3 separate regions of the Homo sapiens genome follow, and regions 1 and 3 are each linked to region 2. Evidence: promoter capture Hi-C in 16 types of primary human blood cells and fetal thymus (Javierre and others, 2016). All regions are on one chromosome and are shown on one strand. Each heading gives the region's core, a stretch centred on a gene start or on the middle of the fragment in contact. The rest is flanking DNA. Distances are from core to core; before and after follow the strand shown. Region 1 has its middle 8.6 kb from the start of OLIG2. Region 2 holds the start of OLIG1 (oligodendrocyte transcription factor 1). Region 3 has its middle 15 kb from the start of OLIG2.

What was found. The method cuts DNA at HindIII sites, captures the fragments that hold promoters and counts their contacts. A CHiCAGO score of 5 or more calls a contact.
Region 1: a contact is called between a fragment that was not itself captured here and the fragment with the promoter of OLIG1 in region 2, in 2 of 17 cell types (M1 macrophages and megakaryocytes). The highest score is 5.8, in M1 macrophages.
Region 3: a contact is called between a fragment that was not itself captured here and the fragment with the promoter of OLIG1 in region 2, in 3 of 17 cell types (M1 macrophages, M0 macrophages and monocytes). The highest score is 5.5, in M1 macrophages.

The regions. Positions count from the first base shown.
Region 1 is chr21:33,033,109-33,035,940 of GRCh38, forward strand. No RefSeq gene overlaps it. Among named protein-coding and RNA genes, the nearest start is that of OLIG2, 8.6 kb to the left of the region's middle. RefSeq lists enhancers at 1-590, 591-1,258. The HindIII fragment of the contact is 179 bases long and covers 1,246-1,424 here.
Region 2 is chr21:33,068,821-33,071,520 of GRCh38, forward strand. OLIG1 (oligodendrocyte transcription factor 1) reads left to right here and starts at 1,321. Exons shown (of 1, transcript NM_138983.3): 1 at 1,321-2,700. The coding sequence starts at 1,427. The coding sequence ends at 2,242. The HindIII fragment of the contact is 4,947 bases long and covers 1-2,700 here.
Region 3 is chr21:33,009,885-33,012,727 of GRCh38, forward strand. No RefSeq gene overlaps it. Among named protein-coding and RNA genes, the nearest start is that of OLIG2, 15 kb to the right of the region's middle. The HindIII fragment of the contact is 166 bases long and covers 1,438-1,603 here.

The sequences.
Region 1 (2,832 bases), core at 85-2,584, 36 kb before region 2:
CCTGTCCCCCACCCCGGCCCCCTTAGGTGGCGCTCCTAGTGCTTCCCCCCATGCCTGGACCCCATCTGTCCCCGACTCCCCCATCTGGGCGGCGGGCGGGGCTCACAGGCTTTAGCAATTAGCGGGCGCGGGTGGGCGCGCGGCGCGGGCGGAGGAAGGGCCGGAGCAGGTGAGCCGCGGCGGAGCCTCATTAGGGCGGCCCGCACGCCCCGCGAGGGACCGTCGTTAGTGCCAAGACAGCTGCCGCTCCTGCCGGCCTAGGGCCGCAGCCGGAATCCCGGGCCACATCCCCTGCCCCGTTGTGCCTTCCACACCTCGGGCAGTCACTAGGAAAAGGGTCGCCAACTGAAAGGCCTGCAGGAACCAGGATGATACCTGCGCCAGTCCCGCGGCTGCTGCGAGTGCGCGCTCTCCTGCCAGGGGGACCTCAGACCCTCCTTTACAGCACACCGAGGGCCCTGCAGACACGCGAGCGGGCCTTCAGTTTGCAAACCCTGAAAGCGGGCGCGGTCCACCAGGACGATCTGGCAGGGCTCTGGGTGAGGAGGCCGCGTCTTTATTTGGGGTCCTCGGGCAGCCACGTTGCAGCTCTGGGGGAAGACTGCTTAAGGAACCCGCTCTGAACTGCGCGCTGGTGTCCTCTCCGGCCCTCGCTTCCCCGACCCCGCACAGGCTAACGGGAGACGCGCAGGCCCACCCCACCGGCTGGAGACCCCGGCACGGCCCGCATCCGCCAGGATTGAAGCAGCTGGCTTGGACGCGCGCAGTTTTCCTTTGGCGACATTGCAGCGTCGGTGCGGCCACAATCCGTCCACTGGTTGTGGGAACGGTTGGAGGTCCCCCAAGAAGGAGACACGCAGAGCTCTCCAGAACCGCCTACATGCGCATGGGGCCCAAACAGCCTCCCAAGGAGCACCCAGGTCCATGCACCCGAGCCCAAAATCACAGACCCGCTACGGGCTTTTGCACATCAGCTCCAAACACCTGAGTCCACGTGCACAGGCTCTCGCACAGGGGACTCACGCACCTGAGTTCGCGCTCACAGATCCACGCACACCGGTGCTTGCACACGCAAGGGCCTAGAACTGCAAAGCAGCGGCCTCTCTGGACCGCCTCCCTCCGGCCCTCCTGAGCCCTACTGAGCCCTGCTGAGTCCTGGAGGCCCTGTGACCCGGTGTCCTTGGACCGCAAGCATCCTGGTTTACCATCCCTACCCTGGCTGACCTGAGAGCTGGGGATCTTTTAAGCTTTGTATGCCTGGCCTCACCTTTTCCTCTGCCTCCCTCCCAGACCAGCCCGGCTCTCAGACACCTCTGCTTTCTAGGCAAAAGTTCTGGAGCCCAGAGCAAGGGCCACAGGTGCAGTGCAGTCCAAACAGGACCACGAGCAATTCTCTCTCCTTCATCCTCAGATTTGGCAGTAGAAGCTTGTTTTTCAGAACAGGGCTGGAGTGGCCTCTTTGAAACTCTGAACATGTTTCAACTGTAGAATAGAGCCATAATGGGTGATCTTGGAAGCTCCGTGGGCCAATCAGGCTCTGCCCCAATACCCGAGCCCTCTGGGTGTCCTGGTCCACCTCAGAGCAGAGGTCCTGGGAGCCCCTGCTGGCAGGGAGGCTGTGATGGGTGAGAACAGCCCTCCTCCGTGTGTCCTCCGTGCACTAAGAGAATTCACTGGCCTCTGCTGAAGCGGAGTTTAGACAGTTCTAGAAAGGAGTTGTCCTTGGTTGTGGGGCTTCCCTAGGGTGGAAACTGTGGTTTGGACATCCTTGTACCTTCAGGGTACCTGCTAGATATAAGGACTCACAAAAAAATGAATGAACGAATGAACGAGTGGCACAGTGCAAGTCAGGAGGTTTGGAGAGTGTGGGGAACAAGGTGGAAGTGTAAAAGTCCTGAATCCTTCATTGATGGGGGATACTGAGGCCTAAAGGATGGTGAGCACTTTGATTCTATCCAAGGCAGCTGGATTCAGACCAAAGCCCTATACTACAGTGATCCAGGTTACGAGACCTTCCTGATCCTCTCTTCTTATGTAAATAGAGTAATTAATAGTAGCACCTGACAACTGTGCTGCTGTGAGGATTAAATGAAACATCCCAGGAGTCGCCCTCTGCATGGTGCCAGCAGTGAATGGATGCCCTGGGCCCAAGGACCTGCCCAGAGTGCAGCTGCTGCTGGGTGTGGACTCCCACAGCTGAGGCTCCCCCAACCCAAGCAGCCAGGAATCTGTAGGTCATAGTGGGGCAGTCACCATGGAGACCATGAAGAGGCAGTTGGGTGTGGGGTGGTATGCTGCCTTGGCCAAGCTCTGCCAGCTGAGTGACCTTGGACAAGAGACATGAGCTTTCTTAGCCTTGGCTTCCTTATCTGTAAAGTAGGGGTGATGCTAGTACCATCTTCACAGGCCATCTGGCCTGAGAGGGAGAACCTGGCACACCACGCATATCCAATTAAGCAGAAGAAGGTGCCTGACTGCATGAGTGTCATCCCATTGAATCTTCTGGGAGGTCCTACAAGGTATGGTCTCTGTTACTCTGGGTGACATGATCTGTCCTGCAGCATCACAAGGGGTCTGTATGCCTCGGGGCGCCAAGGAACAACTCAGCACTGTCCCTGAGCTCTGTACAGGTTCCACTTCCCAAACCCCCCCAACGCAAGGCAAGGCCTCTGTTCTCACCTTTGCATGCCCTGGGGTGCCTGGTACTGAGCATGATGCACGGTTAGTTCTCTGGGAATATCCTTTGCATTGCATTGTGGACGAGGAGGGCCCATGCTCTACATGGAAAACAGACCTGGGTCTTTTTTTTTTTTTTTTTTTTTTTTTTTTAGA
Region 2 (2,700 bases), core at 71-2,570:
GAACCCATGTGGCAAATATTGGTGGAAGAAAACCAGAACAAAGCAGCCCTGAAACCAGCAAGCACAGCCACCAAGATGCCCTCTTCCCCAGGACATTGACAAGTTATAGTAGCATGCACTGGTGCTGGGGGCAGAAAATGTCCATAGACACCAAGTAATGCTATTCTATTTGGCAAATAAAATGATTCATTCCCACCCTCAACCGATAGGACTATGTGGGTGTTTTGTTTTGTTTCTAATAAGAGGCCAATTTCTGAGTGACTTTTGCTTAAGCAAATGTCAAGTTGCTGATAGACCATCCCTTTCGGGGAGGATAGAAACCCGACCCAAAGGCTCCTTTGTCCCTAAAGACCTTTCAATCAGAGGGATGGGGAAGGAGGTTGGGAGCAGCAGGGAGGAAATATCCTAATGCTACTTGTCATTTAGTCCAGAAATTTAGCGACCTGAACCTGGCAGGAAATTATGTATTTTAAGAAAAAAAAAACATGATACACTCATGTTCATAGCAGCATAATTCGCAACAACCAAAAGCACCCCAAATGTCCATCAACGAATGAATGGATAAACCAAATGTGGTATATCCATATACTGGAATATTATTCAGCCTTGAAAAGGAAGAAACTTTGATACATGCTACAACATGGATAAACCTTGACGACAATATGCTAAGTGAAAGAAGCCAGTCACTAAAAGACAAGTGCTGTATGATTCTACTTATATGAGGGACCTAGAGTAGAACAAATTCATAGAGACAGAACAGAAGAGTGAATTCCAGGAACTTGGGTCGGGGGGAGTGGGGAGTTGTTTAATGGGTGGAGCTTCAGGGTTGCAAGTTGAAAAGAGTTCTGGAGATGGGTTGCACAACAATGTGAATTTAATTTAAATCAATTTAATGTGCACACTAATGCATATAACATTACTGAACAGTACTCTAAACATAAGACGGTAAATTTTATGTTATGAATATGTGATCACAGTTAAAAAAAAATATGAGGGAGGTTGTTTTTGAGTAGACAGTTGCTGGAGGAAGGCACGTGAGTTGCAGCCTGACCAGTGCGACCAGTCCTCCTTCAACAGCCCCGCTTGCCTTGAAAAGGCGCCCTTACTCCGCTCAGGGGGCCTGTCCCGCGCGGCTGGCACAGGCGCTCACAATAACCTCCTAAAGCGGTGCCAGCCGCACCTCCGCGCGGCCCCGGCACAAGCAGCCAATGAACACGCGGCTGCGCCCGGCCTCGCGCCTCCATTGGCTGCGCCCCGCCACCCGCTGCCCCGCAGGTTCCCAAGCCGGGTTTAAAGGGGTAGGGCGCGGGCCAGGGCCCCACCATCGTTTCCCCGCGCGCAGGTCCGCGGGGAGGGGCGGCCTGCCGACCGGCCCACCCCAGGGCGTTCCTGAAGGGCGTCCTCGGCCGCCCCCACCGCCTCCCAGATGTACTATGCGGTTTCCCAGGCGCGCGTGAACGCGGTCCCCGGGACCATGCTGCGGCCACAGCGGCCCGGAGACTTGCAGCTCGGGGCCTCCCTCTACGAGCTGGTGGGCTACAGGCAGCCGCCCTCCTCCTCCTCCTCCTCCACCTCCTCCACCTCCTCCACTTCCTCCTCCTCCACGACGGCCCCCCTCCTCCCCAAGGCTGCGCGCGAGAAGCCGGAGGCGCCGGCCGAGCCTCCAGGCCCCGGGCCCGGGTCAGGCGCGCACCCGGGCGGCAGCGCCCGGCCGGACGCCAAGGAGGAGCAGCAGCAGCAGCTGCGGCGCAAGATCAACAGCCGCGAGCGGAAGCGCATGCAGGACCTGAACCTGGCCATGGACGCCCTGCGCGAGGTCATCCTGCCCTACTCAGCGGCGCACTGCCAGGGCGCGCCCGGCCGCAAGCTCTCCAAGATAGCCACGCTGCTGCTCGCCCGCAACTACATCCTACTGCTGGGCAGCTCGCTGCAGGAGCTGCGCCGCGCGCTGGGCGAGGGCGCCGGGCCCGCCGCGCCGCGCCTGCTGCTGGCCGGGCTGCCCCTGCTCGCCGCCGCGCCCGGCTCCGTGCTGCTGGCGCCCGGCGCCGTAGGACCCCCCGACGCGCTGCGCCCCGCCAAGTACCTGTCGCTGGCGCTGGACGAGCCGCCGTGCGGCCAGTTCGCTCTCCCCGGCGGCGGCGCAGGCGGCCCCGGCCTCTGCACCTGCGCCGTGTGCAAGTTCCCGCACCTGGTCCCGGCCAGCCTGGGCCTGGCCGCCGTGCAGGCGCAATTCTCCAAGTGAGGGCGGGCCTGGGCCTGGGGCGCGACCTCGGCCCGGCCTCCCTTCGCTCAGCTTCTCCGCGCCCCTGCTCCCTGCGTCTGGGAGAGCGAGGCCGAGCAAGGAAAGCATTTCGAACCTTCCAGTCCAGAGGAAGGGACTGTCGGGCACCCCCTTCCCCGCCCCCACCCCTGGGACGTTAAAGTGACCAGAGCGGATGTTCGATGGCGCCTCGGGGCAGTTTGGGGTTCTGGGTCGGTTCCAGCGGCTTTAGGCAGAAAGTGCTCGCTCTCACCCAGCACATCTCTCTCCTTGTCCCTGGAGTTGCGCGCTTCGCGGGGCCGATGTAGAACTTAGGGCGCCTTGCCGTGGTTGGCGCGCCCCGGGTGCAGCGAGAGGCCATCCCCGAGCGCTACCTCCCCGGAGCGGAGCACGCCGGCTCCCAGTACTAGGGGCTGCGCTCGAGCAGTGGCGGGGGCGGA
Region 3 (2,843 bases), core at 271-2,770, 59 kb before region 2:
TCTCCAGAGTTTAAGGATCGTATGTCTTCGTGGAAAACTATATATCCTAAGAGAAATGATACAGCATAGTGCCTGATACATAGTAATCCGGCAAGATATGCTGGCATTAATATGATAACAAAAATCACATTATTCACATCATTAGGAGAGACTATTGTTTCCAGTCCCACACATTTCTAACACACATTGATGTGCATTTTTCCAATTAAAATAATCTTAAAGAAAGGAGGCCAGGGGGGGTACACAAAAGTAAGAACGCGTATTGCTAAAAGCAAAACAGCCCATTGTTTGACCATCCAGCTCCGCACTTACCTGCCCATATGGTGGCTCCTGGAAGCCAGCATGCTAAGCACCATGTGTACCAAATAATCACAGGGGTAGGTTAAAGAGACAGCCTTCCCCCTAATTTGACCAATTTAGCATTTGGGGAGTAGTCTGTCTGTGCCTATCTTGGGAATTTTTAAACAATGGGTTGAAAGAGAAATTAGGGGAGGCAGACAATATTTCGGAATCAACCTAATAAATGTGAACAGCTGCAATGCGATCATCAGCACAATACATGATGGTTCCTTTCTCCAAGAAAATAAATGTGCGCCTCCCCGGGGGTCTGTCCTCTGCCACCCTCCTCTACTCGCAGTATGCTTTCCGCTTGCACTGATGTGCCCTTGTGCCTCCCTTCAGCCCTTGGCTTGAAGCCCTGGACTAGATCAACCAGAGAACGGGCATCCCCACTGGGTGCTCCTCCTGTGTCTCCCCTTCAACTCATCCAAACAGAAACTCTTCCTCTTGGATTCTCCATCACAGTTGATGAGATGGGGCACCCTCATCCGTCCAGCTGCTCAGGCTTAGAAAACTAACAAAGTCCTCCACTACTCTGCACCCTCACTTGTCTATACGGAGCCATTCATCAAAGTTTGCCAATTTCACCTCCTAAAAATGTCTTCCATCCCTCCCCTCTTCTCCATGAGGGGAGTCTGCCACTGCCCAAGGTTGGAGTCTGCATTTGTCTGCTAGGGCTGCCATGACAAAGTAGCACAGACCGGGTGGCTTAAACAGCAGAAATGTATTGTCTCACAATTCTGGAGGCTGGAAGCCTGAGATGAAGGTGTCAGCAGGGTTGGTTTCTTCTGAGGCCTCTCTCCTTGGCTTGTGGATGGCCGTCTTCTCCATGTGTCTTCACATGGTCTCCCCTCTGTGTGTGTCTGTGTCCTAATCTCTTCCTCTTATAAGGACACTAGTCATATTAAGGGCCCACCCCAATGACCTCATTTTAATTTAATTACATCTTTAAAGACCTATGTCCAAATACAGTCACATTCTTAGGTACTAGGAGTTAGGACTTAAACATACCAATTTGGGTCAGGGAAACACAGCTCAATCCATAACAGGGTCCTTATCATCTCTCACCTTGACTACCATGAAACCTTGTATTTACTAAGCTTTCTACAATGATCAGATCCTGTATTTTCCATATTTCCTACCAAGGACCATGTATGACTTCTATTACCAGAAAAATACTCATCAATGAAATATTTTGAAGAAAATGGTGGTGTTCTCCTTCCAATTCAGAGACTTCTCCTTGGCCACTGTCTGTTCTGCTTTAAGCTTCTCCTTTGTCGTGTTTCTCCATGTTCCATCCCCTGGCCTCAAATCTGGGTTCTCCTCTTCTGTTTCCTTTTCTCAGGCTGGTGAGTCAGCTGGACAGTCATCTGAGTCTGGAGTTGGGGCCAACTTCTTTGGCATCACATTCCAGACAACAGAAACACTGATGAGCACAGGGCATCTGAATGGGGCCGTGAGTCATTGTTTGTAGTTTGTCAGGTGATATGGTTTGTATATTTGCTCCCACCAAACCTCATGTTGCAATTTGATCCTCAGTGTTGGAGGTGGAGCCTGGTGGGAGGTGTTCAGATCATGGGTCATGGGGGCAGATCCCTCATTGAATGTCTTGGTACCATCTTCTCGGTAATGAATGAGTTCTCACTCTATTGGTTCCTATGATAACCAATTGTTAAAAAAGAGCTTGGACCTCTCTCCTCCTCTCTCTTCTTCCTTCCTCTCTGGCTGTGTGATGCCTGCTCTCCTTCACCTTTTGCCGTGATTGGAAGCTTCCTGAGGCCCTCACCAGAAGCAGATGCTGGCACCACACTTCTTGTACAGCCTGCAGAACCATGAGCCAAATAAACCTCTTTCCTTCATAAATGACCCAGCCTCAGGTGTTTCTTTATAGCAACACAAACTAAGACATCAGGGAAGAGTGAGAACTATTTTGAAATTGAAACATGGATGTATGTTCTTCAATGCACATTGTGGGTTTCATGGAATTTTATTCTAATTCTGCAACTTGGAACACTTTTGTCCACACCCCGTTCTGGGGAGGTAATGGGGCCATGGAACCCTTTCTGTGTCCATCCATATTTCAGCCCTCCAGGAGGCTTTGCCAGGCAAGTTATACCTCACTCTGGATGAGCCTCTGGACATCAAGAGACATCAATGGTGCCAAAGCACCATACTAGATTTCAACAGAGGCAGCATGCATGGCCCTTCAGAGAATGAAGGCTGGATCCTGGTCCCTGACATAGAGACCCTAAAGCACTCTCTCATCTCACCGTTCAGAATATGTGGATCACCCCCTTGGAGAGTTCTGGCCCTCAGGAAACTTACACCTACCATCTAAAGTTCTACACTTCTACCCTGACTCCCACACTCCATAAAACCAGGGAGATGGAGCCCCAGCTGCACTGTCTCAGTCAGGGTCCCAGCAGGAAATAGCATACCCAAGTTAGGATACTTGGAAAGGGGCTAATTGACAAAGGGACTCATTACCACAATGGAGCCAGCAT